Regions from separate parts of the Homo sapiens genome. Here all the other regions are linked to region 3. Evidence: promoter capture Hi-C in human tissues and cell types (Jung and others, 2019). All regions are on one chromosome and are shown on one strand. Each heading gives the region's core, a stretch centred on a gene start or on the middle of the fragment in contact. The rest is flanking DNA. Distances are from core to core; before and after follow the strand shown.

Evidence for each region. Contacts are between HindIII fragments. The study calls those that stand out against the background at their distance.
Region 1: a fragment that was not itself captured here is called in contact with the fragment with the promoter of EMP3 in region 3 in 1 of the 25 tissues and cell types used here (dorsolateral prefrontal cortex).
Region 2: a contact is called between the fragment with the promoter of BBC3 here and the fragment with the promoter of EMP3 in region 3, in 1 of the 25 tissues and cell types used here (adrenal gland).
Region 4: a contact is called between a fragment that was not itself captured here and the fragment with the promoter of EMP3 in region 3, in 1 of the 25 tissues and cell types used here (aorta).
Region 5: the fragment with the promoter of NOSIP here is called in contact with the fragment with the promoter of EMP3 in region 3 in 1 of the 25 tissues and cell types used here (spleen).

Annotation. Positions count from the first base shown.
Region 1 is chr19:47,100,081-47,105,125 of GRCh38, reverse strand. All of the region lies in intron 2 of ZC3H4 (zinc finger CCCH-type containing 4), which reads left to right. Among named protein-coding and RNA genes, the nearest start is that of ZC3H4, 11 kb to the left of the region's middle. The HindIII fragment of the contact is 3,344 bases long and covers 443-3,786 here.
Region 2 is chr19:47,228,470-47,233,892 of GRCh38, reverse strand. BBC3 (BCL2 binding component 3) reads left to right here and starts at 2,694. Exons shown (of 4, transcript NM_014417.5): 1 at 2,694-2,964. RefSeq lists enhancers at 1,158-1,427, 854-1,477, 2,187-2,306 and silencers at 2,447-2,676, 2,817-3,536, 5,397-5,423. The HindIII fragment of the contact is 48,720 bases long and covers 1-5,423 here.
Region 3 is chr19:48,322,712-48,326,801 of GRCh38, reverse strand. EMP3 (epithelial membrane protein 3 (MAM blood group)) reads right to left here and starts at 1,250. Exons shown (of 5, transcript NM_001425.3): 1 at 1,192-1,250. It overlaps LOC124904735 (a long non-coding RNA gene), which reads right to left. Exons shown (of 2, transcript XR_007067284.1): 2 at 3,280-4,012. RefSeq lists enhancers at 367-436, 727-776, 1,377-1,426 and a silencer at 2,004-2,235. The HindIII fragment of the contact is 22,631 bases long and covers 1-4,090 here.
Region 4 is chr19:49,913,117-49,917,799 of GRCh38, reverse strand. All of the region lies in intron 2 of NUP62 (nucleoporin 62), which reads left to right. It also overlaps a transcript of IL4I1 not described here. Among named protein-coding and RNA genes, the nearest start is that of ATF5, 14 kb to the left of the region's middle. RefSeq lists an enhancer at 4,529-4,683. The HindIII fragment of the contact is 9,177 bases long and covers 1-4,683 here.
Region 5 is chr19:49,578,074-49,582,992 of GRCh38, reverse strand. NOSIP (nitric oxide synthase interacting protein) reads left to right here and starts at 2,437. Exons shown (of 9, transcript NM_001270960.2): 1 at 2,437-2,478. It overlaps PRRG2 (proline rich and Gla domain 2), which reads right to left and starts at 1,677. Exons shown (of 7, transcript NM_000951.3): 1 at 1,512-1,677. The HindIII fragment of the contact is 33,716 bases long and covers 1-4,919 here.

The DNA of each region.
Region 1 (5,045 bases), core at 865-3,364, 1.2 Mb after region 3:
TATTCCATTTAAAGTTGGCCCTCGAGAGGGTGGGGGTGTTAACTGTTTCCTCAGTCCACTGTGGCTCCATTCTCCCTGCGTTCCACTCCTTTCAGTGAATGTAGAGGCCCAAGCCTAGGCTTTTAAACCCTCTTAAATGGAAGGGATTTTCATTCATTAGAAGTAACTGGAGACTTCTTGAGGTCCCGTGTGGAAGTGGATCATGGCCATTACATCCCTGCTATGGCCTAACCGAGGGAGCTGGGCCCAGACGCTAGTGTCGCTTGGCCAAAAGTCTGTTGCAGGTGGCTTGGATTATTGCCCTCCTCATTTTCCTAACAGACACCAGGGCTTAGGTTTCCTTGGGATTCCAGGCAGGCCCTGCCACTCCACGGGGAACGAGAGCAGTCACAGTAACTGAAGCTTGTGGGCCACACGGGTGGGCTGCATCCGAGGCAGGGCCTGTCTCCTCTGTTCAGTCTGTGCATCCATCACTTTCAAGCTTATTTGGAAACCCTTGATAAACACTTGAATGAGTTTGTGTCAAAGTTTTAAGTGATACAGGTTGCTGAAAAAGTTTTCTTGGAAATTAGTTACTGTTTCTATTGATGAAATTGACCAAAAGGGTATGAGAGCTGAGATTGATACTTCATATAGAATATGCACTGAGCATGTACCCAATCTGTACCTGGCCCTGTGCTGGGCCCTTGGAAATGTGGGGTTACTGTGAACCTCATTCTTGTCTGCCCTTAAGGAACCCACAGGTGACTAGAAATTAACGAATAGGTTGTATCAGTTCTTTTTAAGAAATTATTATTATTATTATTTTAGACAGAGTCTTACTCTGTCACGTAGGCTGGAGTGCAATGGCATGATCTCAGCTCACTGCAACCTCTGCCTCCTGGGTTCAAGCGATTCTCCTGCCTCAGCCTCCTGAGTAGTTGGGATTACAGGTGTGCGCCACCACACCCAGCTAATTTTTGTGTTTTTAGTAGAGATGGGGTTTTACCATGTTGGCCAGGCTGGTCTTGAACTACTGACCTCAGGTGATCCACCTGTCTTGGCCTCCCAAAGTGCTGGGATTACAGGCGTGAGCCACTGCGCCTGGCTAAGAAATTCTTTAGGTGGTATATGAACAAATCTCAAGAATCTTAGGCCCAGATCTCTTATTTATTTGTTTATTTTTATTTTTACATATTTTTTAAGACGGAGTCTCGCTCTTTCACCCAGGCCGGAGTGCAGTGGCACGATTTCAGCTCACTGCAAGCTCTGCCTCCCGGGTTCATGCCATTCTCCTGCCTCAGCCTCCTGAGTAGCTGGGACTACAGGCGCCTGCCACCACGCCTGGCTTATTTTTTTGTAGTTTTTTTTTTTTTTTTTTTTTAGTAGAGACGGGGTTTCACCATGTTAGCCCAGATGGTCTAAATCTCCTGACCTCGTGATCCGCCCGCCTCGTCCTCCCAAAGTGCTGGGATTACAGGCATGAGCCACTGTGCCCGGCCAACGGGCTGATTTTTATATTTTTAGTGGAGACAGGGTTTTACCATGTTGGCCAGGCTGGTCTCGAACTCCTGATCTCAAGTGATCTGCCTGCCTTGTCCTCCCAAAGTAATGAGATTACAGGTATGAGCCACTGCGCCCGGCCTGAAACCCTGTCTCTACAAAAAATACAAAAATTAGCTGGGCATGGTGGTGCATGCTTGTAGTCCCATCTACTTGGGAGGCTGACGTGGGAAGATTGCTTGAGCCCAGGAGATCAAGGCTGCATTGAACCAATGATCACACCACTGCACTCCAGCCTGGGTGACAGAGCAAGACCCTGTGTAGAAATAAATAAATAAATAATTATAAACAAAGAGAAGTCTTAGTTCATAAGTTAAATTATTAGACTTTCTCCTCTGGAGTGATAGAAATCGGTCCTCTGATGAAAACCATGATCTTTGCAGCTTTAAACCATCTGAAGCTTAGTTGGCATGAGAAGGTGGTTAGAAAACTCTTCATTGCTGAGAAGCAAATTCCAGAGGTTCATCTGCCAGGAGTAACTTGGATCTGAGGGATAGATACCTTTGCTCAAGAATGCAAATTTTCAGAGCTCGTGGGAGTGGAAGAATAGATACTCAGGCAAAAAAAATGGCATCTTTGTCTCCACAAGCTTCCTTTTAGCAGGCTGGGTTTTTTCACGGTCAGCCTGTTTGAAGCTTTACAGAAATGTTCTGCCTAAGTGGTTTGCATGCTTGGACAAACCCCAGAGTGGACACTGCACACTTGGGGGCGAAGGCATTCGTTTCATATTAGGGGACTTTGGAATTTCACTCCCTGGGATTTTTGTATTGCTTTCTCTTTGTGTTGGGATGAGTCCTATTTTTTTTTTTTTTTTGCCAGAATTCCTTCGGTCTTTCCATGAGCCCTTATTCTCTATCCAGATGTCTTTGGTTAGGTTTTTGAAATGCTACCATTTCCTTCACTTGATATTGGAAGGACCGTATCGGCCTTGTGTCTTTGTGTTTGGGTAGGTTTTACTCCTAAGCATTTATTCTGGGCAAGGTTCCTGCTAAGTGCTTGTGTTACATGGCCTCATGGGATTCTCCCATGACACCATCCTGGGGACTCCATGGTTGCCTGTGCTGCACAGTTATGGAGACTGGGGTGCAGAGTGTTTAAGGAATTTGCCCAAAGTCTTGGTACCTCATTCTGGCATTTCTTGGAATACTGATTCATGAAGTCTGTTTTATGTATGTATATCTTATTTTTCCCTACTCGATTATACATTTCAGGGTGGGCGTTGTTTTGTCAGTTGACCTGTTTAGCAAATTACTCTTTTTGACATAATTTGTAGTTGTCAAATAATTTGTAGAGGTTAAGAGCTGGTCTTTGCATCCAAAAGTACTGGACTTAGTTTCTAGTTCTGCTTCTTCCTGCTGTGACCCCATGGGCAAATTCCTTCTTGTCTCTGAGCCTGTTTAGGCCTTGGTGAGGAGTGTGGAGGCCTGCAAGCCCAGATTCCAGCTCTCTGCTGGGAAATTATTAAATAACTGCTTGGGGACCTTGCAGCCTCTCCTCACATTGCTGAGTTGTCCCACTTGGAAGTTCTTGTTTTCTTTTTCTTTTTTTTTGAGACGAAGTCTCAATCTGTCACCCAGGCTGGAGTGCAATGGCATGGTCTCAGCTTACTGCAACCTCCACCTCATGGGTTCAAGCAATTCTCCTGCCTCAGTCTCCCAAGTAGCTGGGACTACAGGCGTGTGCCACCATGCCCGGCTAATTTTTTTTTTTTTTTTCGAGACAGAGTCTTGCTCTGTTGCCCAGGCTGGAGTGCAGTGGTGCGATCGCTCATTGCAACCTCTGCCTCCCAGGTTCAAGTGATTCTCCTGCCTCAGCCTCCTGAGTAGCTGGGATTACAGTCGTGCGCCACCACGCCCAGCTAATTTTTGTATTTTTAGTAGAGATGGGGTTTCTCCACGTTGGTCAGGCTGGTCTCGAACTCCTGATCTAGTGATCCGCCCGCCTCAGCCTCCCAAAGTGCTGGGATTACTGGCATGAGCCACCGTACCTGGCCAGAACTTTTTTCTTTCTTAACTTTTTATTATGGAAAAAAAATTTTTTTTAGTTATTTATAGAGGCTGGGTGCAATGGCTCATGCCTCTAATCCCAGAACTTTGGGAGGCCAAGGCAGGAGAAGGCCAAGGCAGGCTTTAGTCCAAGAGTTCAAGACCAGCCTGGGCAACATAGAGAGACCCTGTCTTTAAATTATTTGTGGAGACGGGGTCTAACTGTGTTGCCCAGGCTGGTCTCTAACTCCTGGGCTCAAGCAGTCTGACAGGGTCTCACTCTGTTGCCCAGGCTGGAGGGCAGTGGTGCAATCATAGCTCACTGCAGCCTCGACCTCCTGGCTGAATCGATCCTCTCGCCTTAGCCTCTTGAGTAGCTGGGACTACAAGCACATGCTGCCAGGCTAAGTTTTGTATTTATTGTAGAGATGGGGTTTCCTCATGTTGCCCAGGCTGGTCTCAAATTCCAGGGCTCAAGTGATCCGCCTGTTGGCCTCCCAAAATGCTGGGATTACAGGCATGAGCCACTGTGTCTGGCCTATACCTGTAGATTCTTCAGTATGAATCTCTAACTTTATGATTATTTAAAAACATAACTACAGGCCGCGTGTGTTGGCTCACACCTGTAATCCCAGCACTTTGGGAGGCTGAGGCAGGCGGATCACCTGAGGTCAGGAGTTCGAGACCAGCCTGGCCAACATGGCGAAACCCTGTTTCTACTAAAAATACAAAAATTATCTGGACGCGGTGGCAGGTGTCAGTAATCCCAGTACTCAGGAGGCTGAGGAATGAGAATCACTTGAACCCAGGAGGCGAAGGTTGCAGTGAGCCGAAATCACGCCACTGCACTCCAGCCTGGGCGACAGAGTAAGATCCCCGTCTCAAAAGAAAAGACAATAAAACAAAACAAAAAACCTTTCTACAAAACTCATTTCTAACAAGATTAACAATTAATATCTCAAATACCCAGGCTGGGTTCAGATGGCTCCAATTTCTCCTATCGTCACATCCACCAGTAGGTGTCTTCGTATCTAGATGCCAGCAGTGGGTAGACTGTCTTATGTTGAAGTGAGGGTGTAGGGTACAGGGTACAGATGCTGATGCCTGGACTTCTCTTTGCCAGTTTTGTGTCTCACTTGGGTGGTTGCCGTGGCGTAGGCACGTTACCATGGAAATGGCATGATGTCACAGAGCAGGCTATGATGACACCTGAGAATGCTGAAGAAAAGGAGACAGAGCACATTTGTTCTTGGTTTCTGGTTGATGAACCTAGGTAGTAAGGACACTGAAAAGCATGTGCAAGACCCAGAGGTTTATTTCAAGAATTTCCTGGCTCTGAAAATCCCTCCGTGAGGTTTCCCCTATGGCTGCTTCATTACGTCCTAACTCAAGGGAAGGTCTCGGGCCTTTCTTTGGCATGAGCCCTGAGCTGAATTTCTGAAGCAAAGGCCCTGCGCCTTCAATCCTAATAAACGACTAGTCCGCAGAATCGGACTTGGGGATCCTGGACTTCTGCAT
Region 2 (5,423 bases), core at 1,445-3,944, 1.1 Mb after region 3:
GGCAACATAGCGAGACCGCCCATCTCTACAAAAAAATAAAAATTAGCTGGGCGTGGTGGTTTACACCTGTAGTCCCAGTTACTTGGGAGGCTGAGGCAGGAGGATCTCTGGAGCCCAGGAGTTTGAAGCTGCAAGGCTATTGTACCACAAGGCTATCCATTGTGCCACTACACTCCAATCTGGGCGACAGAGTGAATCTTTTATCTAAAAAAAAAAAAGGCTGGGCCAGGTGCAGTGGCTCACGCCATAATCCCAGCACTTTGGGAGGCCGAGGAGGGCAGATCACGAGGTCAGGAGATCGAGACCATCCTGGCTAACATGGTGAAACACTGTCTCTACTAAAAAATACAAAAAATTAGCCGGGTGTGGTGGCAGACGCCTGTACTCCCTGCTACTGGGGAGGCTGAGGCAGAAAGGCCTGAACCTGGGAGGCGGAGCTTGCAGTTTGCTGAGATCGTGCCACTGCACTCCAGTCTGGGCAACAGAGTGACATTCCGTCTCAAAAAAAAAAAAAAAAAAAAGCTGAGTGCAGTGGCTCACACCTGTAATCCCAGCACTTTGGGAGGCCAAGACAGGCGGATCCCGAGGTCAGGAGTTTGAGACCAGCCTGGCCAATATGGTGAAACCGCATCTCTACCAATAATACAAAAATTAGCTGGGCATAGTGGCGCACACCTGTAGTCCCAGCTACTAGGGAGGCTGAGGCAGAAGACTTGCTTGAACCCAGGAGGCGGAGGTGGCAATGAGCCGAGATCATGCCACTGAACTCCAGCCTGGGCGACAGCGCGAGACTCTGTCTCAAAAAAAAAAAAAAAAGTAAGATCCATGTAAGTGATGTCATATGTCATAATCCATGGTTTACTCATGACCCACAGTTTGGAAAACACCAGGAAGAAGGAAGGGACAATGAATAATCGGGGAAAGCGAAAGAGGAGGGAAAGTGAAAGAGGGAGGAAAGCTGAGGAGTTCCCAATGTTGCAAATGGGGAGATTTCACGTGAGATATAGATTACCTGCATCTCTTGGGGGAGCTAAGAGTGTGTACTTGGAGGCAGTCAAGTTTGAGAAGTCTGACATCCTTACTCAGCCAGCCCCACACTAGGCACTGGAAGGTGAGTCACTCTGGTGAGGCGATTGCGATTGGGTGAGACCCAGTAAGGATGGAAAGTGTAGAGGAGACAGGAATCCACGGCTTTGGAAAAAGGAAGGACAAAACTCACCAAACCAGAGCAGGGCAGGAAGTAACAATGAGAAACTGAAAAAGAAACGGAATGGAAAGCTATGAGACAGGATGAAATTTGGCATGGGGTCTGCCCAGGCATGTCCATGCCAGGTGCCCAGGGCTGCTTCCACGACGTGGGTCCCCTGCCAGATTTGTGGTGAGTGTGGCCAGGTGTGCATGCTCCGACGTGTGTGCAGTGGGCCAGTTAGCAAGAAGCTGTCACAGGTGTGACTTTGTGACATGTGTGGGTGGTCAGTTTCTTCTATGTCTGATTTGGTTTGTGTCTCTGAATGTCAGTTTCTTTCCTTTATTTTTATTTTTAAGACGGAGTTTGCTCTTGTTGCCCAGGCTAGAGTGCAATGGCACTATCTCGGCTCACTGCAACCTCCGCCTCCCGGGTTCAAGCAGTTCTCCTGCCTCAGCCTCCCAAGTAGCTGGGATTACAGGCATGCGCCACAACGCCCGGCTAATTTTGTATTTTTAGTAGAGATGGGGTTTCATCATGTTGGTCAGGCTGGTCTCGAATTCCTGACCTCAGGCAGTCCACGCACCTTGGCCTCCCAAAGTGCTGGGATTACAGGCATGAGCCACCGTGTCGGGCGAATGTCACTTTCTGATAGTTTTAATGTGTTAGCTGTGAAATTGTGTGAGTGCATTTGTGTATGTCCCTGTGGGAGTGTGATTTGGATTTGGCCGTGTATCCAGGTATCCCTGTAACAGGTGTCTGTGTGTATGTGTGTGTCCCCTGTGCCTATCAGCAAGTTTGTGTTTCCTGATAAGCACTCCGCCTATGTCTGTGTGGTTGCACCACCGTGTGTGTGGTGTGGGTGCCTGTTCGGTAGGGTTGTTTGTGAACACAGTTTGTGGGCCCAGGTGTGATCATCAGTGTGGGTGTTTCTGCAACTGTGTGTGGCCCTGTCATTGTGTCCGTCTGCTTGTCCAGGGGACCCTGTTAGTGAGTCTGTGCATTTCCGTCTGGGTGTGTGTAAGTGTGAGCCCCATCAGTATGTGAGTGTGTGTGCTCATGCCCCTGTCCATGGTGTGGATTTGCGAGACTGTGGCCTTGTGTCTGTGAGTACATCCTCTGGGCTCTGCCTGCACGTGACTTTGTGGACCCTGGAACGCCCGTCGGTCGGTCTGTGTACGCATCGCTGGGGGTGTGGATCTGTGGGTCCCAGTCAGTGTGTGTGTCCGACTGTCCCGGTGTCTGGGCGATCTCCCCACACCCCGCCGCACAGCGCCTGGGTCCTCCTTGCCTTGGGCTAGGCCCTGCCCCGTCCCCCGCTGCAGGGAAACCCCCGGCGCGGAGGTAGGGGGGGGCGCGGCGCGCGCCTGCAAGTCCTGACTTGTCCGCGGCGGGCGGGCGGGGCCGTAGCGTCACGCGGGGGCGGGGCGTGGGACCCGCCGGGCGGGGGCGGGGCGGGGCGGGGCGGGGCGGCTTTGGAGCGGGCCCGGGATCCGCCGGGCGGCCTGAGACGCGGCGCGAGCCACATGCGAGCGGGCGCCTGGCGGCGGCGGCGGCGGCACCAGCGATCCCAGCAGCGGCCACGACGCGGACGCGCCTGCGGCCCGGGGAGCAGCAGCAGCCACAGCCACAGCAGCCGCCACTGCAGTTAGAGCGGCAGCAGCAGCGACAGCCACAGCAGCAGCCGCCGCGGAGAGCGGCGCTCGGCGGGCGCGCCCTCCTGAAGGAAGCCGCCCGCCCCCCACCGCCGCCCCCTCCGGCGTGTTCATGCCCCCGGGGTGAGTGTGCGCGCCCCGAATCCTCTCCGGCGGCGATCGGCCAGGCCGGGTGGACTCCCTGGAGGAGGTGACAGGAGTGCAGGCGGAGAGCAGTGTGGGCGCCCTGCCTCCCCACACCGCGCCTCTCCAAACCCCGCGAGGGACCCTGGGCCAGGGTCGCCGGGTGAGAGGCGGCTCGGCGTTGGGGCGCCGGTCTGGGCGCACAGGTGCCTCGGCGGTCTGGCGGGTTTGTTTACAAACAATGGGGTGCGGGCTCGGCAGCGCCCCCTGGCGGCCAGTGCGGCCCCGGGGAAGAGGGTCGACCCCAGGGGTGCCCCAGCCCCCAAAGTCCGGGAGGGGCGGGGGGGCGGCACGGAGGGGCGGCCACACCCAGGGCGCGCGCCCGCTGGGGGCGGCGACGGGGGGCGGCTCGCGGGCCGTGGAGTCTGCGGCTCCTGCGGGCGGGGGCTGCGCCCCAGCAACAGCCGGTTATTGGCCCCGCGCTCGCCTGGCGGGCGGGGCGGGCGCACGTGGCGGCGGTGGGGGGGGCTGTGACAGCGGAGGGGGGTGTCTGGGACCGCCGTGGGAGCGCGCGTGTGCGGGGTTGTGGATCTGCAGGTGTCTCGCCTGGGTGTGTGCGCGTGTCTGGCTCCGAGTTTGTGCTGGGTTCTGCAGGGAGTGGTGGTGTCGATCCAGAGGAATGTTGGGGTTTCTGACCCGTCGGGGTGTCTGCGTGAGTCCCCGCGCCTGTTTGTGTGGGGTTCTGTCTGTGGGTGCCCTGCTTGTGGGGTGGGTGGACCTGCGTGTGTTGTCGGTGAGAGTTGTCTGTGTGTGCTGTTCCGGGATGATACTGGGGGTCTGTGGTGCCTGCGTGTGCTGGGGTGTGGAGGTTGTAGTGTGTGTGTGTTGCTGGAGTGAGCTGTTTGTGTGTTTATGTGTGTGTCTTGCCCGAGCGTGCGATATGTGTGCTTGTGTCTTGCCTGTGTGTTTCTGTCTTGGCTGAGGCCGTCTCTGTATCTCCGGGGCATGTGTCTTTTGCCCAGCGTTTGTGATGCTGCGCCTGCTAAATGCAAATGTCTGTTTTCTGTCCAGGTGTCTGTGTGAGTTGTCAGGTGTGAGTGTGTGTGTGTATGTATGTGTGTGGTGGGGGGTTGTTTCAGTCTGGGTTTGGCTTGTGTGTCTGGCATCAGCGTCTGGGATTTGAGGACCCAGGATCTGTGGGGTCTATGCAGTGTAGACGGTGGGTGTTGCTGGCAGCCTCTGGATGGGGTTGTGTCTGAGCCTGTGTGTGTGTGTGTGTGTTGGGTCTGAGGGGCTTGTCACTGTGATCGGCTGGCTCATGTGTGTCATGTGGGCTGCGTGTGTGTAGTGTTTATGTCAGTCACGTGAGACCAGTGTTTTCTGTGGGTGCGCTAGGTGTGTGTGCTGCTGGGCTGTGTGGGATTAGAGTTAGCTGTAGGGTGTGTGTGTGTGTGTGTTGCTGACAGTTGGTGATGATGTTTGAGGGTTGCGTGAGGAGGGTGGGTTGGTGTCTGGTGGTGTGTTGAGGTCTGATGGCATGTGTCTGTGTGTGCCTGATCTACGTGTGTCCTGAGAGTTGGTGACATGTGGGTGTGTTTTGGGGGTGTTGATGTATGTGTGTCCGTGGGTGTCTGTTTTGTGTTGATATGTGAGTCCAGAGGTGTGCAGGTCTTATCTCTGGAGTGAGTGTGTGTGTGTGGAGAGGGGCATGTTTGGGAACTGAGGCAGTGCCTAGCTTGTGTGTGTGTGTTTGTGTTTGCAAAGGCTGCATTGTGTTTGCATGTGCCCCTGGGCATATCAACAGTGGGTCAGTGTGTGAGACTTTGACAGTTTGGATGTGTGGGGATGGATTGTGCCAGCCAGTGTGCGCAGTATGTAGAGTGCTTGTGATGGTCTGTCTGGATGCTCCTGCTTTGGTCGGGGGTGTGTGTGTATTGTGTGTACTGAGTAGTGATGTCCGAGACTGGGGCCATCTCAGTGTTTGTGTGCAAGTGGGAGGTGGGGTGGGCGGTCAGGCTGGCCAGTCCCGTGTGAGTCCTTGTGTGTGTGCTGTGGGGGCCTCGCTGTGCCTCACTGCCCTCCCTGTGTGCCCGTCGCTGTGTTGGGAAAGTTGTCCCCACCAGCCCATGCTGTGAGTCCCAAGTGGAGTGAGTTTGTGTTGTGGGACTGTCACAGCCCTCATACACACACCTGCTAGACCCCTCCATCCGTCCTGTGTGAGCCCTGTCCTTGCTGTGAGAGCCGTCCTGTGCCCCCTGTCCCTCCTGTGTGCCCATCACCGTATGCACGGGAGGCTCTCCAGGCCAGCCAGGACCCGGTGGTGTCATCCCCCGGCTGGGCGTGTCTCTGTGGGGCCGTCACCCCCTCCGCATGCACACACACCTCCACTCTTCTCCATCTGGGTCCTAACCCCGGGTAGGCTGGAGGTACAGTGGGCCCTGGTACTTCCCTGCTGACCT
Region 3 (4,090 bases), core at 1-2,500:
TCAAGAGGTTGGCACAGGCCAGGCACACTCACGCCTATAACCCCAGCACTTTGGGAGGCCGAGGCGGGAGGATCACCTGAGGTCAGGAGATCGAGACCAGCCTGGCCAACATGGTGAAACCCCATCTCTACTAAAAATACAAAATTAGCTGGGTGTGGTGGTGCACACCTGTAATCCCAGCTACTCGGGAGGCTGAGGCAGGAGAATCACTGGAATCCAGGAGGCAAAGGTTGCAATGAGCCAAGATCATGCCATTGCACTCCAGCCTGGGTGACAGAGAAAGACTCCGTCTCAAAAAAAAAAAAAAATTTGGCATAAAGGCAGGTGAGATGTCTCCTGATGGAGGAAGGGCATGGGTGCAGACTCCTGGGTCTCTCAGGGAGGAGACCGCTGGGGCCTGGATTCCTGAGATCCCCATTGGCTGGAGGGGTGGAGAGGGCCAAAGATGGACTCTTGGGTTCCTTGAATGAGGAGGACTAGCAATGTGGCTCCTCTCTCCCCAGAACCCTGACTCTGGGTTACATACAGGCCAGATAGTGAAAATTCAAGTTGAGACCCCACCCTGCACCCCGACATCAGGATTGAGGAGCTGCCCCCAGCAACAGGCATTCTTGACTCACACCACTCCTCTCCTGGGTTGAGGGGAGGAGGGGGACCTGGTGAGTCATCTGGTGACTCATCCCCACCCCCCCCCATCTCTAAGCACCAGGGAAACCCCAGCCCCTGGCTATGTCCACGAGGTCCTCACCCCACCCTGCTGCCAGACTGGTGACTGTTGGACATCTTCTGGAGGAAATGGATAGGATTCGCGCTGGGGGGAAGAGAGGCCCAAGAAGGAGTTAGCCTCCCAGGACTCTTTGGTGCCCAGGAACAGGGGACCTAGAGGTCTCCCAGATTTGGGGTGTTCTCATGCAATGCCCTGATCTCAGGGACCCCAGAGGACAGTGGACACCGCTGAGGGAAAAACTGCAGGAAGTTTTCCAGTGGAGGGCTCTGCTGGGACCCCAAAACTTTGCCGGGCCCCACCCCTTCCCATATCCCCACCTCAAGTGCTAAGAGATCACTTATTAAATTAAAAGGATTTCCAAGAGTCAGGGACGTCTCTCCCAGCCTGGGGGTGTCCTTCCCAAACTGCTACATTCCCAAGTAAATTAAGAAGTCCCAGCCCTGAATAACGGACTGGAAACTTACCGAGAGCCGCGAAAAAAGTCAGAGCTGGAGTCGGAGTCTTGTCCCTCGCTCGGGCCTCCGTGCCCCGCCCTTCTCCTCCCTCCTTTCACCCTCCCGAGGCCCCCGCCTCTCTCACCGCCTTCCTCCCTCCCTTGCTCTCCCCTCCAATCCAGAACCCTTTCTCTCTCGCTCGCTCTCCTTCTGCGTCTCTTCTCTCCCTCCTGCCCTCACTGTCTGGGCCTCCTTCTCTCTTGCTCCCGTTTCTCTTTCTCTCCTCCTCTCAATATATACTGACCCTTTTATAAACCCACCCTCACCGCACCCAGCTGAGGTCGGCTGCCAGTGGGAGGGCCCAGGCACTCCGGTTCCTCTTTCTTTGGGCCCCCACCCAATCCCTCCAGACAGACATCATCTGGGGCTCCCTCCCAGGGTTGAGATGAGAAACTCTTGGAATGGGGTTCTTGGGGGGGGCAAGCGTCAGGGGTGGGAGGGCCCGATTCTCAGGACCCTTGAGTTTTGAGGTCTTGCCCTGGGGCCGGATGTCTGCTTTCCCTGATGGAGCTTGGAGCTGGATAGGAGTCTGGGAAAAGAGGCCAGATTTCTGTGGCATGGACTTGAGATTGGGCTGGTGAAGTTGGCCCCGTGGTGGGGGGTCAGAGGATGGGAGATGAAATTTGTGAAACTCGGCAGGGCGTTGTGGCTCACGCCTGTAATCCCAGCACTTTGGGAGGCCGAGACGGGCAGATCATCTGAGGTCAGGAGTTCGAGACCAGCCTGGCCAACATGGTGGAAACCCGTCTCTATCAAAAATACAAAAATTAGCCGGGCGTGGTGGCGGGCGACTGTAATCCCAGCTACTTGGGAGGCTGAGCCATGAGAATCGCTTGAACGCGAGAGGTGGAGGCTGCAGTGAGTTGAGTTTGCACCACTGCCTTCCAACCTGGGGGACAAAGTGAGATTCTGTCGCAAAAAAAAAACAAAACAAAACAAAAAACAAACAAACAAAAAAAAAAACCTTGTGAAACTCTGGAAGCGGGGAGGAAGCGGAAGCTAAGAATCCCAGCGCCATCATTTCCTGGTTCAGTGACCTTGAGCCAATTATTTCACCCACCTGGGCTCCAGTATCTTAGTCTATGTTGAGAGTATAATAATGCTGACAAAATACTAATACTGATAATAATAATTCTGATACTTATGCTGAATGAATAAGGTAATACTGGCACACTCACACACCTAACCTGTTCCTTCCTTCATCAAACATTTATTGAACATGTACTCTGATCTGGGAGTTAATAATGAAAACAGACATGAGCCCTGCTGGTATTATGGAGCTTGTATTCTAGTAGAGGAAGACAGACAAGAGAAAACATCAATGATGAAGATAAATCTCAGATAAGGATAAGTGACTTGAAAAATAAATACAATAGGCTGGACGTGGTGGCTCATGCCTGTAATCTCAGCACTTTGGGAGGCCAAGGCTGGAGGATCACCTGAGGTCGAGAGTTCAAGACCAGCCTGGCCAACATGGTGAAACCCTGTCTCTACTAAAAATACAAAAATTAGCCAGGCATGGTAGTGGGCGCCTGTAACCCAGCTACTCAGGAGGCTGAGACAGGAGAATTGCTTGAACCCGGGAGGCGGAGGTTGCAGTAAGCTGAAATCACGCTACTGCACTCCATCCTGGGTGACAGAGCAAGACTCCATCTTAAAGAAAAAAAAAAATAAAAGAAGAAAAGAAAAATAAATACAATAATAAATCAAACAGAGTGATGGAGATAATGACAGAGTGCAGGGAAGACTACTTGAAACAGGAAAATCAGGGAAGGCCTCTTGGAGGAGGTAACATTTGAGCTGAAGACAGGAGTCATTTGAACGCTGGGGTTGGGGAGTGGTGGGGGGGCGTCGGGGGGAGAGGAAGTGCAAAAGCTCTTAAAGCTTTTGAGAACAAGCTCAGGTTGTTTAGGGAGCAGACAGAAGGGCCAGTGTGGCTGGAGCACAGGGAGACAGAGGGAGTGGTGAGAAGGGAAATCAAAGGGTGCCCTTGAAGACTAGGGGAGGGGCTTGGATTTCATTCTAAGTGCAGTGGAAAGCCATTAGGTTTTAACAGAGTGTAGTACCAAAGATTTTTATTTTTTTTTTGAGATGGAGTCTTGCTCTGTCATCCAGGCTGGAGTGCAGTGGCATGATCTCAGCTCACTGCAACCTCCACCTCCCGGTTCAAGCGATTCTCCTGCCTCAGCCTCCTGAGTAGCTGGGATTACAGGTGCCCGCCACCACGCCCAGCCAATTTTTGTATTTTTAGTAGAGACGGGGGTTTCTCCATGTTGGCCAGGCTGGCCTCGAACTCCTGACCTCCAGTGATCTGCCTGCCTTGGCCTCCCAAAATGATGGGATTACAGGCGTAAGACACTGTGCCTGGCCCCAAAGGTTTACTGTTAACTATTATTATTAATTTTGGGGATATTAAATTAGGGTCGGGGTGATGACTACTATGTACACGAGTCTCTTGGGAGGGGACCAGGTGCCCAGAACTCTGATAAATTGAGAGCAGGGGAATTCAAATCCTGGATCCAGGGAAGGGAACTGGATGATGGGATGTCTGGGTATCTGATGGGCCAGAGCTGGGTTTGGGATAGCTGTTGGTGATTCGGGCTCCCTGAGGGGGTGAGGGATGGACAGTTCAGTGCTTGGCTGGGTACCCCAAGACCTGGAAGCTGGAATACCAGTATAGCACAGACTCTAGAGCCACACTGGTTGGACTCAAAATCCAAGCTGTTTTACTCAATGGCTGTGTAATTTTTGGCAAGTTACTAATAACTTCTCTATGCCTCAGTCTCTTCATCTGAAAAATAGAGATAATAGTAAATACATTATAGGGCAGTTCTTAGGGTAGTGCTAGTCATATCAGGCATTGGGGCTC
Region 4 (4,683 bases), core at 433-2,932, 1.6 Mb before region 3:
CTCGGCCTGCCAGAGTACTGGGATTACAGGCGCGAGCCACCATCCCTGGCCCACTCTGTTTTCTACCAATGGGGTTGGCCATACCCCAGGCAGGGTAGTTATGTAAGAGAGCAGGACAGGAAAGCCCAGGCCACCGCCAGCTCCCGCCAGGCGACTGCAACAGTCTCCTCACTCCTCCCACACAGAGTCTCGGTGAGTCTTTCCCAACATAACCCAGACCCTGACCCACTCATGGTCTCATGCTCCCAAGGCACTCTGGTCTGGCCATTTGGCCTGGACCGCTTGAGCATCTGCCTTGGCTAAGGTCCACTTAGGAAGGTGTTGGTCAGTTGACTTCAGTTCTTGAAGGGCAGACTTGGAGCTGATCTGTTATTCAAGGTTTAGGGGGATTTTCTTTGACGCAAAGGAAAGAGGAACTGATTCAGGAGACGGTTAAGAAGCAGAGTAGTTAGACTTGTGGAGTTTGCAGACGGAGAATCCCAGCACTAGCACTCATGGAGATGGTCCTGGCCAGAGGTTCCCACGGGAGGGCAAGTGAGGGAAGGCAGTGTTGGAGGACGGCGTCTGAGCCTCAGCAGGAATCAAATTTCCCTGGGCTGAGCCCAGCCCATCTCTGATCTCCCCTTGTTTCTCTCCTCTCCACTCCCTCACTCTCTGCTCTTTTCTGCCCTGTTCTGGTCTCTCTGGTTCCACCGGTCATACTTCCCCCAAATCTGAAATAACGAATTCCATGGGGAAAGGGGAGGTCCCACGGAGACAGCTCCGCACCCTGTCCGTCTTGCATCTGGGCTCTGCGTTGTCAGCAGTGCCACCAGGTGGCTGTCAGCCGAATGCCATGGGCCTTTGTTCAAGTGCCTCCCAGAACTTTTTTATTTGTTTGAGACGGGGTCTCGCTCAGCCGCCCAGGCTGAAGTATGGTGGCATGATCACAGCTCACTGCAGCCTCAAACTCCTGGGCTCAAGTCATCCTCCCACCTCTATCTGGGATCACAGGCACACGCCACCATGCCAGGCTAATTTTTGTTTTTTTGTTTTTGAGACGGAGTCTCGCTCTGTCTCCCAGGCTGGAGTGCAGTGGTGTGATCTCGGCTTACTGCAAGCTCCGCCTCCCGGGTTGATGCCATTCTCCTGCCTCAGCCTCCCGAGTAGCTGGGACTACGGGCACCCACCACCACGCCTGGCTAATTTTTTTTTGTATTTTTAGTGCAGACGGGGTTTCACCATGGTCTGGATCTCCTGACCTAGTGATCCGCCCGCCTCGGCCTTCCAAAGTGCTGGGATTACAGGCGTGAGCCACCGCGCCTGGCCTAATTTTTGTATTTTTAGTAGAGATACAAAAATACAAAAGATACCGGGAGGCGGAGCTTGCAGTGAGCCAAGATCCCGCCACTGCACTCCAGCCTGGGCGACAGAGCGAGACTCCGTCTCAAAAAAAAAAAAAAAAATACAAAAGATACACCATGTTGGCCAGGCTAGTCTCGAACTCCTGACCTCAGGTGATCCACCCACCTCAGCCTCCCAAAGTGCTGAGATTACAGATGTGAGCCACCACACTTGGCCAACACTTAATTCTAACATCTTTTCCTCAATGAAACTCTCCCGTCCCAGGCAGAATGTCAAGACTTGGCCCTGGAAAGCTCTGGTTTCCCATCATGGGTCTGCTGTTTGCTGGGTGGCCTTGGGGAGTCTGCACTTGTTTCCCACCCAGGAAGGGCTCGGTGTGCTGCAGTGCAGTGCTCTGGCACGGTGCCGGTTACACAGTAGGTCCCTAGTAAATGGTTGTTACTGAGTCCCTACTGTGTACCAGGCACTGCTGCAGGTGCTGCGAATACAGCAGGGAACAAACGGAAATCTGGCCCAGTGGAGCCGACACCATCCCCACCGTTAGCCTTCCTCTGTGTTCGGAGGCAACCTTGTCCTTCCCTCCCATCATAGATGGCCTATCGTGGCTGGGTGTCAGTGGCAATCCACCCACACACATCCACAGTCCTGGCAGGGTTGCCCCAGCACCAGGGGATGTCTGGATTTTCAGAATCACACCTCACTTTCCTTTCTGTACCAGCCGCCTTGGTCTCCATGCACAAGGGCAGACCTGCCCCTGACCCCAGCCCCTTTCTCAACCCCAGCTCTGCTCTGTGTATTCCCATCCACCTATCTAGATTTCATTCTGTTCTTTCTCCATCGTCCCTCAACCTACCGCCATTGGTTTCTAGTGGCTGCTGTAACAAGTCATCACAAATGTAGTGGTTTAAAGCAACACGAATGTATTTTCACAGTGCTGGGGGTCCAGAGTCTAAATGGGTGCATGGTGTGTAGTTCCTCTGGGAAACTCTAGGGGAGAGGCTATGTCCTTCTTTAGCTCTAGAGGCCGAAGCCGCCTGTGTTCCTTGGCTTGTGGCCCCCTCATCTTCAAAGCCAGCAGCACAGTGTCTCTCAGTCCATTCTTCCATAGGCACATCTCCCTCTGACTCCTGCCTCCCTGAAGAACCCCTGTGGTCACCTGGGGCTCACGTGGATAAGCCAGGGTAACCTCTTTATCTTCATCACATCTGCAAAGTCCCTTTGCCATGTAAGGTCACATTGACAGGGTCCTGGATCAGAGTGTGGGCATGTTTGGGGGCCGTTTTTCTGTCTACCCCCCCACACACATAGCACACATCCTTCCTAATTCTTCCTTTCCTTTTGGTCCAAAGCTGAGGTCTCCTGTATTCTTTCCCAGGCACAGACTCCTGTCCCAGGCATCTAAGGAAAGGGGTTGGGGGCCGGGCACAGTGGCTCACTCCTGTAATCACAGCACTTTAGGAGGCCAAGGTGGGCAGATCACCTGAGGTCAGGAGTTCAAGACCAGCCCGGCTAACATGGTGAAACCCCGTCTCTACTAAAAATACAAAAATTAGCTGGGCATGGTGGTGCACGCCTGTAATCCCAGCTACTCGGGAGGCTGAGGTGGGAGAATTGCTTGAACCCGGGAGGCGGAGGTTGTAGTGAGCCAAGATCGCACCACCACACTCCAGCCTGGGTGGCAGAGCAAGACTCCATCTCAAAAAAAAAAAAAAAAAAAAAAAAAAAAAAACTGGGACTTGGAGTGGCACAAGAATCACAGATGGAGGTAAGGTAGTAGAGCTGACCGAAGGCTGGGGTGACAGCAAAGAACCCTGGTTCTCACAGATGGGGGTGGGATATGCCCACCTGAATTCAGATGATTCCGCATCTGAATCCCAAGCGGGTCTTCCTCCGGGTTCCCAGGGCTGTGAAGGCGGCCGTGTTGTTTGAAACTCAAGGGTAAATGTTGGGGCAGGCAGGCAGGAAGGGAAGGGACTGGCGGCTCTGCCAGCACTTTCCTTGGTGACCTCAAGGCAGCGCTTCTCTGGAGCTGTGTCCTGCCTGGGTGAACTACAGATGGTCACAGCCACCCAGCCCTGAGCACAGGCCCAGGCATACCCTCCTCCTTTCCCTGGAAATGCAACACTCCCTCAGTTTGGGTTCCTCCCTGCTTCCTCCACCGCCACCAGCACCATCAGCTTCTTTGGTAAGGAAACTCTCCCCTTTGGCAAATGTGGTAATTCCGGGATCAGAGCTCGTAATAGTTTGCATTTGTGAGAAACTTCCCAAGTTCTAGTATTTGTGGCTTTTTGTTTTTTGTTTTTTGCCTCAAACTCCTGGGCTTAAGCAATCCTCCTGCCTTGGCCTCCGAAAGTACTGGGATTACAGGTGTGAGCCATCATGCCTGGCCTGTCACTGTTAACCTGGACAGACCCTGTGGTTTTGGTGCAAATTTAACACTTTGCTCAAATTGTGATGCTGTCCTCTCTGAGTTCCAGTTCGGGCCTCAGGCTCTTGGCCTGGACCTTCTCCCAGTCTTCTCTAAGCCACCTGGCCTCCAGCCTCTACCCCTACGGTTCATCCCCCACACCCATAAAGTCCGCCTGTGGCTCCCTCAATATAACGCCCGAACCGTTAGCATGGTATGTATGGGTCTGCCAGATTCTCCCGCCTGTCACGTGGCCCACAGTCCCCAAGACCACCCTGCGGCTCAGTGATGAGCTAAGACTCACAGAGCTCAGCAAAGCTTTCTACTCACAGTCACGGTCACGGTTTATTATGGAGAAATGATACAGACTGAAAACAGCAAAGGGGAGAGATGCAAAAGCCCCAAGGGAGACCAGGCACGAGCTTCCAGCTCTCCTCTGCAGGTAGAGAGAGTCCCGCGGACAGTGCTCAGTTCTCCCTGCAACAGCGTGTGGTAACGCTTACGGAGCAGTGGCGGCCCGGGTTGTGGGGAGGACATGGCGCACCCGTGTGGCTGAACTGAGGTCTGCTGACTCCAGCCCCTCCAGAGGTCGTGCTGATACTGTATGACCCAAAGCCCCCACTCTAGGTCACAGCGTCAACATGGACTCTCTAGAGTGGCCTGGGGCCCCAGGTAAACAAAGGCGCTCTTATCTGGCAGCACATTTCAAGAACATAGAGATTCTCCTGGAGCTGGTCAAGGGCCATTTTCTCTCTTTGGAATGTGCAGATTTGAACAGCCCAGGCTTGCCAAGTCACTCCTTCACACATAAACATCTCCCTTCAGAAGCACCAGATCACTTAGCACCCAGAGGCATGTCTGCTGTGTGGGCCTCCCTGTCTTCACACAGGCCTTTCCTCCCGCGTGGACGGCGCCTCTCCCCCGCCATCCTT
Region 5 (4,919 bases), core at 1,188-3,687, 1.3 Mb before region 3:
GTGGCACAGTCTCAGCTCACTGCAACCTCTGTGTCCTGGGTTCAAGCGATTCTCGTGCCTCAGCCTACCAAGTAGCTGGGATTACAGGCATGCGCCACCACACCCGCTAATTTTCTTTTTTTTTTGAGACAGAGTCTCGCTCTGTCACCCAGGCTAGAGTGCATTGGTGTGATCTCCGCTCACTGCACACTCCACCCCCCAGGTTCATGCCATTCTCCTGCCTCAGCCTCCCGAGTAGCTGGGACTACAGGTGCCGGCCACCATGCCCGGCTAATTTTTTTGTATTTTTAGTAGAGATGGGGTTTCACTGTGTTAGTCAGGATGGTCTCGATCTCCTGACCTCGTGATCTGCCCGCCTCAGCCTCCCAAAGTGAATTTTCATATTTTTAGTAGAGATGGGGTTTCACCATGTTGGCCAGGCTGGTCTTGAATTCCTGACCTCAAGTGATCTGCCTGCCTCAGCCTCCCAAAGTGCTGGTGCTGGGATTACAGGCGTGAGCCACTGTGCCCGGCCTCAACTCATTTTACTTTTCACAGGAGTCATACAAAAATTAGCCAGGCGTGGTTGTGGGCGCCTGTAATCCCAACTACTTGGGAGGCTGAGCCAGAATAATCACTTGAAAGGGGAGACAGAGGTTGCAGTGAGCCGAGACTGTGCCACTGCACTCCAGCCTGGGTGACAGAGCGAGATTCCATGTCAAAAACAAAACAAAACAAAACTTTTCACAGGAGTTTTTTTTTTTTTTTTTTTTTAGACAGAGTCTCGCTCTGTCACCCAGGCTGGAGTGCAGTGGCGCTATCTCAGCTCACTGTGACCTCTGCCTCCTGGGTTCAAGCGATTCTCCTGACTCAGCCTCCCGGGTAGTTGAGATTACAGGTGCGCACCACCACGCCTGGCTAATTTTTTGTATTTTTAGTAGAGATGGGGTTTCACCATGTTGGCCAGGCTGGTCTCAAACTCCTGACCTCAAGTGATCCACCCGCCTCGGCCTCCCAAAGTGCTGGGATTACAGGTGTGAGCCACTGCGCCCGACCAGGAGTCCTATTATTATCCCCAGTATAGAGAACAGGAAACTGAGGCACAGAGAGGTAATATAGCTTGCCGAAGGTCACACAGTGTGCAAGTGTGAGAGCCAGGATTTCAGTGAAGGCAGTGTCCGCCAGAGAAGAAAGCAAGGAGCAGGCAGCTTATCTTTCTTTCCCCACTGTGTCTACAGCACCTGACACAGATGCTTATAAACATGTCCACTGGTGATCTGGAGTCTTCCCTTCCTGGTAATTTCCACTTGTGCCTCTTTCTGTGCTCATTGTCACATCCACCCACAGACAACAAAGATTACGAGAGAGGCAGAGGCAGGGGATTAGTTATATTATTGGGTCTAGGGACCTAAGTGGGCAGGGGCCCTGGACTCCTGGGCCTAGGAGCCCCAAACTTCTGGGTCTCGGAGGGGCGGGGAGCCAGGATGCCTGGGTCCCCAAGCCAGGCTCTTCCTCCAGGGACATTCACTTACCTGCCCAGAAATGTGAGCACTGCCCCTTCCTCTTTAATCGAGAACTCCTTGGCCAGCTACAGCCAGCTGTGAAAGGGGACAGGGAAGAGGGGAGGGGATAAGGAGGAGGGGCGCCCCACTCCCGGTAACCAGGCCTGATCCCCGTTTCTGGCAGGTGGGCGGAACTTGCCATTACCTGCCCTGGGCGGGACTCAGGTAAGGGACAAAGTATTTAAAGGGACCTTGGGATAAAGGACTTAAAGGCCAGAGCTCCATGAGGAAGCCAAGGTGTCGAATACCATGGGATACCTGGGGGATTAGATTCGACCCTCCTCCTCCCTCCCGACCCCTACCCGCTCTGGCTCTCCCCTGGGAGTTCGTCTGTCCGAGCTAGAAAAATTAATATCTAGGTCTCTAGGTATCTAGAAACTAGCGGGAACGATATGCCTTAGTCCCTGGGACAGCTGGGCAGTGCCGCAGTAAATCCCTGTTTCCTGAGAGCGACTTGAACGGCTTTGATTTTCAATTTCCCAATGGCTCTGTCTGTAAAATGGGAGCGTAGTTGTCTCTTCTCAATTGTTTTAAGATGCAGCAAGAAAAGTGGATGATATATTTGGGAAAGTGGGCTTCCCGATCTCTAGGGGAAGTGATTAGTCCTTAAATTTGGGCTTGGAGAGACTCAAAACCTGGGAACCAAGCAGGAAAAAACGATCTCCCTGGGAAATGCCTCGTACATAGTAAGCGTTCCCCATATTCCCACCAGTTTCAATATCCGGAACTTTCGATTAGCTACTCACGTTTCCGGAGAGAGAAAGAGAAGAGAGGACTTGAGCAAGCCAGGCGAGGCACTTCCGCAACTAGGGGCAGCTCTACTTCCGGTGCCTTCTGCTGGGCGGAAGTGGGCGGAGCGGAGGGGGAAAATAGTGCTCCTTTCCGGTGTCGGGGCACAGTTGAAGAAGCGACCGAGGGACTGGGAGTCGTTAGTGAGGTGAGTTCGAGGCGGTGCAGGAAGAGTGTTGCTGGGATCGCTTTCCTGCGGGCTAGAGGCCTGGGGTCTTGAGGGAGACTGGGGCAAGATTTTGGATTCCCGATTCCCTGTCAATCATTATTAATACAGCTGTCCGGGCGCCCCAAGTTTGAAGCTGAACTACACTCTGCTGGAGGTGGCCAACCGTCCATCGGGCAGTTCTCTCTCTCTTTGTCTCTCTCTCTCACTATAAACTCAGTCAAGTGGTAGCTAGCATCGGCCAGTTCTCCTGAGAGTTACAGTTCTGCTGTAGATGATGGCTATTTGCTGGTGGTCCCAAGGGAAGGAGTGGACTGGGATTGCTGGGGGTCTAAGGAGTGGGAGTTGAGGAGGGAGAACTCCTTTCCTGGCCTCAGTTTCTCAGACTGTGGTGGGACGGCGGGCGATACTAGATTGTGCAGTCATCCATCGCCACCTTCTCTTCACCTTTTTGACAGCCCCTTCCCTTTCGGGGTTGGTGCAGGGATTCACGTTTTCTTGTGTGGAGCTTCGGGGTCAGGCAGTCATGGATTCCCATTCTGATTGTGCTGCTAATTCTGTGAACTTGGGGCTTGAACGGTCCTTGAGGCAGTTTGATGTTAATGTTTTCTTACGAAAATGTTCAAACTTATATAAAAGTGAGAGAAGAATACAGGAATTCCTGTCACCCAAATCACCAATGATTATTTTTGCCATACTTGCTGTATTTTTTTAAACTTAAAGAGATTAAAACAAATCGTAGGCATCATGACACTTAAGGATTGTCAAAAGACAAAATTGCAACACATTTAGTGAGAAGATCTTAATTGGCATTTATTCGTGAATCTACAATCAAACAACATCTAATTATGGAAAATAGCGTGAGTGTTCCGATGAGCTGAGCAGAGGTTGTTTTCAGAGACAAAGGGCTGAGAAAATCAGAAACGGAAAACAAAAAGCTAGTTGATTAAATTGATTAACTTGATTAAATTTCTAAGTTAAAGGTTAAAGTAGAGGGGACTTCCTTTATCAGGTGGGCTAAAACTGGGTTGTTTGGGGATTTGGCTATTATCTCTCTCCTGATATCTCAGAAGATCAGATATCAACTTAGTTTTGGCTTGGAAGCATGGAACTTTAGCATGAGTGTCTCCATTTTGGTTTGGTCTGTTGAACCTAGTGCAGGAGCTCAATCCAAACCAATGACCTTCTATAAATTTTATCTAACAGGGTGCGTGTGTAAAAACCAGAAACATTGCTGATATGACCACAATACCATCATCACACTTTAAAAGAACAACCGTAATTCTAGACTACTATCCATTACGTGGTGCAGAGTCAAGTCCAGTGTAACTGTGGGTTTGTTGGAATCAGGATATAGTTAAGTAATTGCTATCGTCTTTTACATCTCTCTTAATTTAGAACTGTTCCCCCTTCCACTCCACTTTGGTTATTTCTTGGTGTAATCGATTCATTGAAGAAACTAATTCTAGTTCAGTTGATCATCCCACCATCTGAATTTGTCCCGTTTGCTTTTTTGTGGTCTCATTTTACCTGCTTCTGTTTTCTTTCTTTTTTTTTTTAAGTATTTAAAAATAGGCCAGACACAGTGGCTCATGCCTGTAATCCCAGCACTTTGGGAGGCCAAGGCGGGCGGATCATGAGATCAGGAGATCAAGACCATCCTGGCTAACACGGTGAAACCCCTTAGCCGGGCATGATGGCAGGCACCTGTAGTCCCAGCTACTCAGGAGGCTGAGGCAGGAGAATTGCGTGAACCCGGGAGGCAGAGCTTGCAGTGAGCCGAGATCACGCCACTGCACTCTAGCCTGGGCGACAGAGTGAGACTCTGTCTCAAAAAAAAAAAAGAAAAAATAGATAGAGACAAGGTGTCACTATGTTGCCCAGGCTGGTCTCAAACTCCTGGGCTTAAGCGATCCTCCTGCCTTGGCCTCCCAAAGTGCTGTGCTTAGATTACAGGTGTGAGCCATTGAGCCCGGCCTCATTTTACTTGTTTCCTCATGCCAGGGATCAGCTAATTATGTTCTACAGACCAAACTCAAATCCTGCCAGCTACCTGTTTTAAAAATCCCCATTGGGCAGGCACAGTGGCTCATGCCTGTAATCCTTGCACTTTGGGAGGTGAAGGCAGGTGGATCATCTGAGGTCAGGAGTTCGAAACCAGCCTGGCCAACATGGTAAAACCTCATCTCTACTAAAAATACAAAAATTGGCTGGTCATGGTGGCTGGCACCTATAATCCCAGCTACTCAGGAGGCTGAGGCAGGAGAATTGCTTGAACCCTAGGGACAGAGGTTGCAGTGAGCTGAGATCATGCCACTTCACTCCAGCCTGGGCAAAAGAGCATAACTCCCTCTCAAAAAAAAAAAGCATTAGTGGGATATGATTTACCTAACATATAGTTCACCCATTGAAAATATACAATT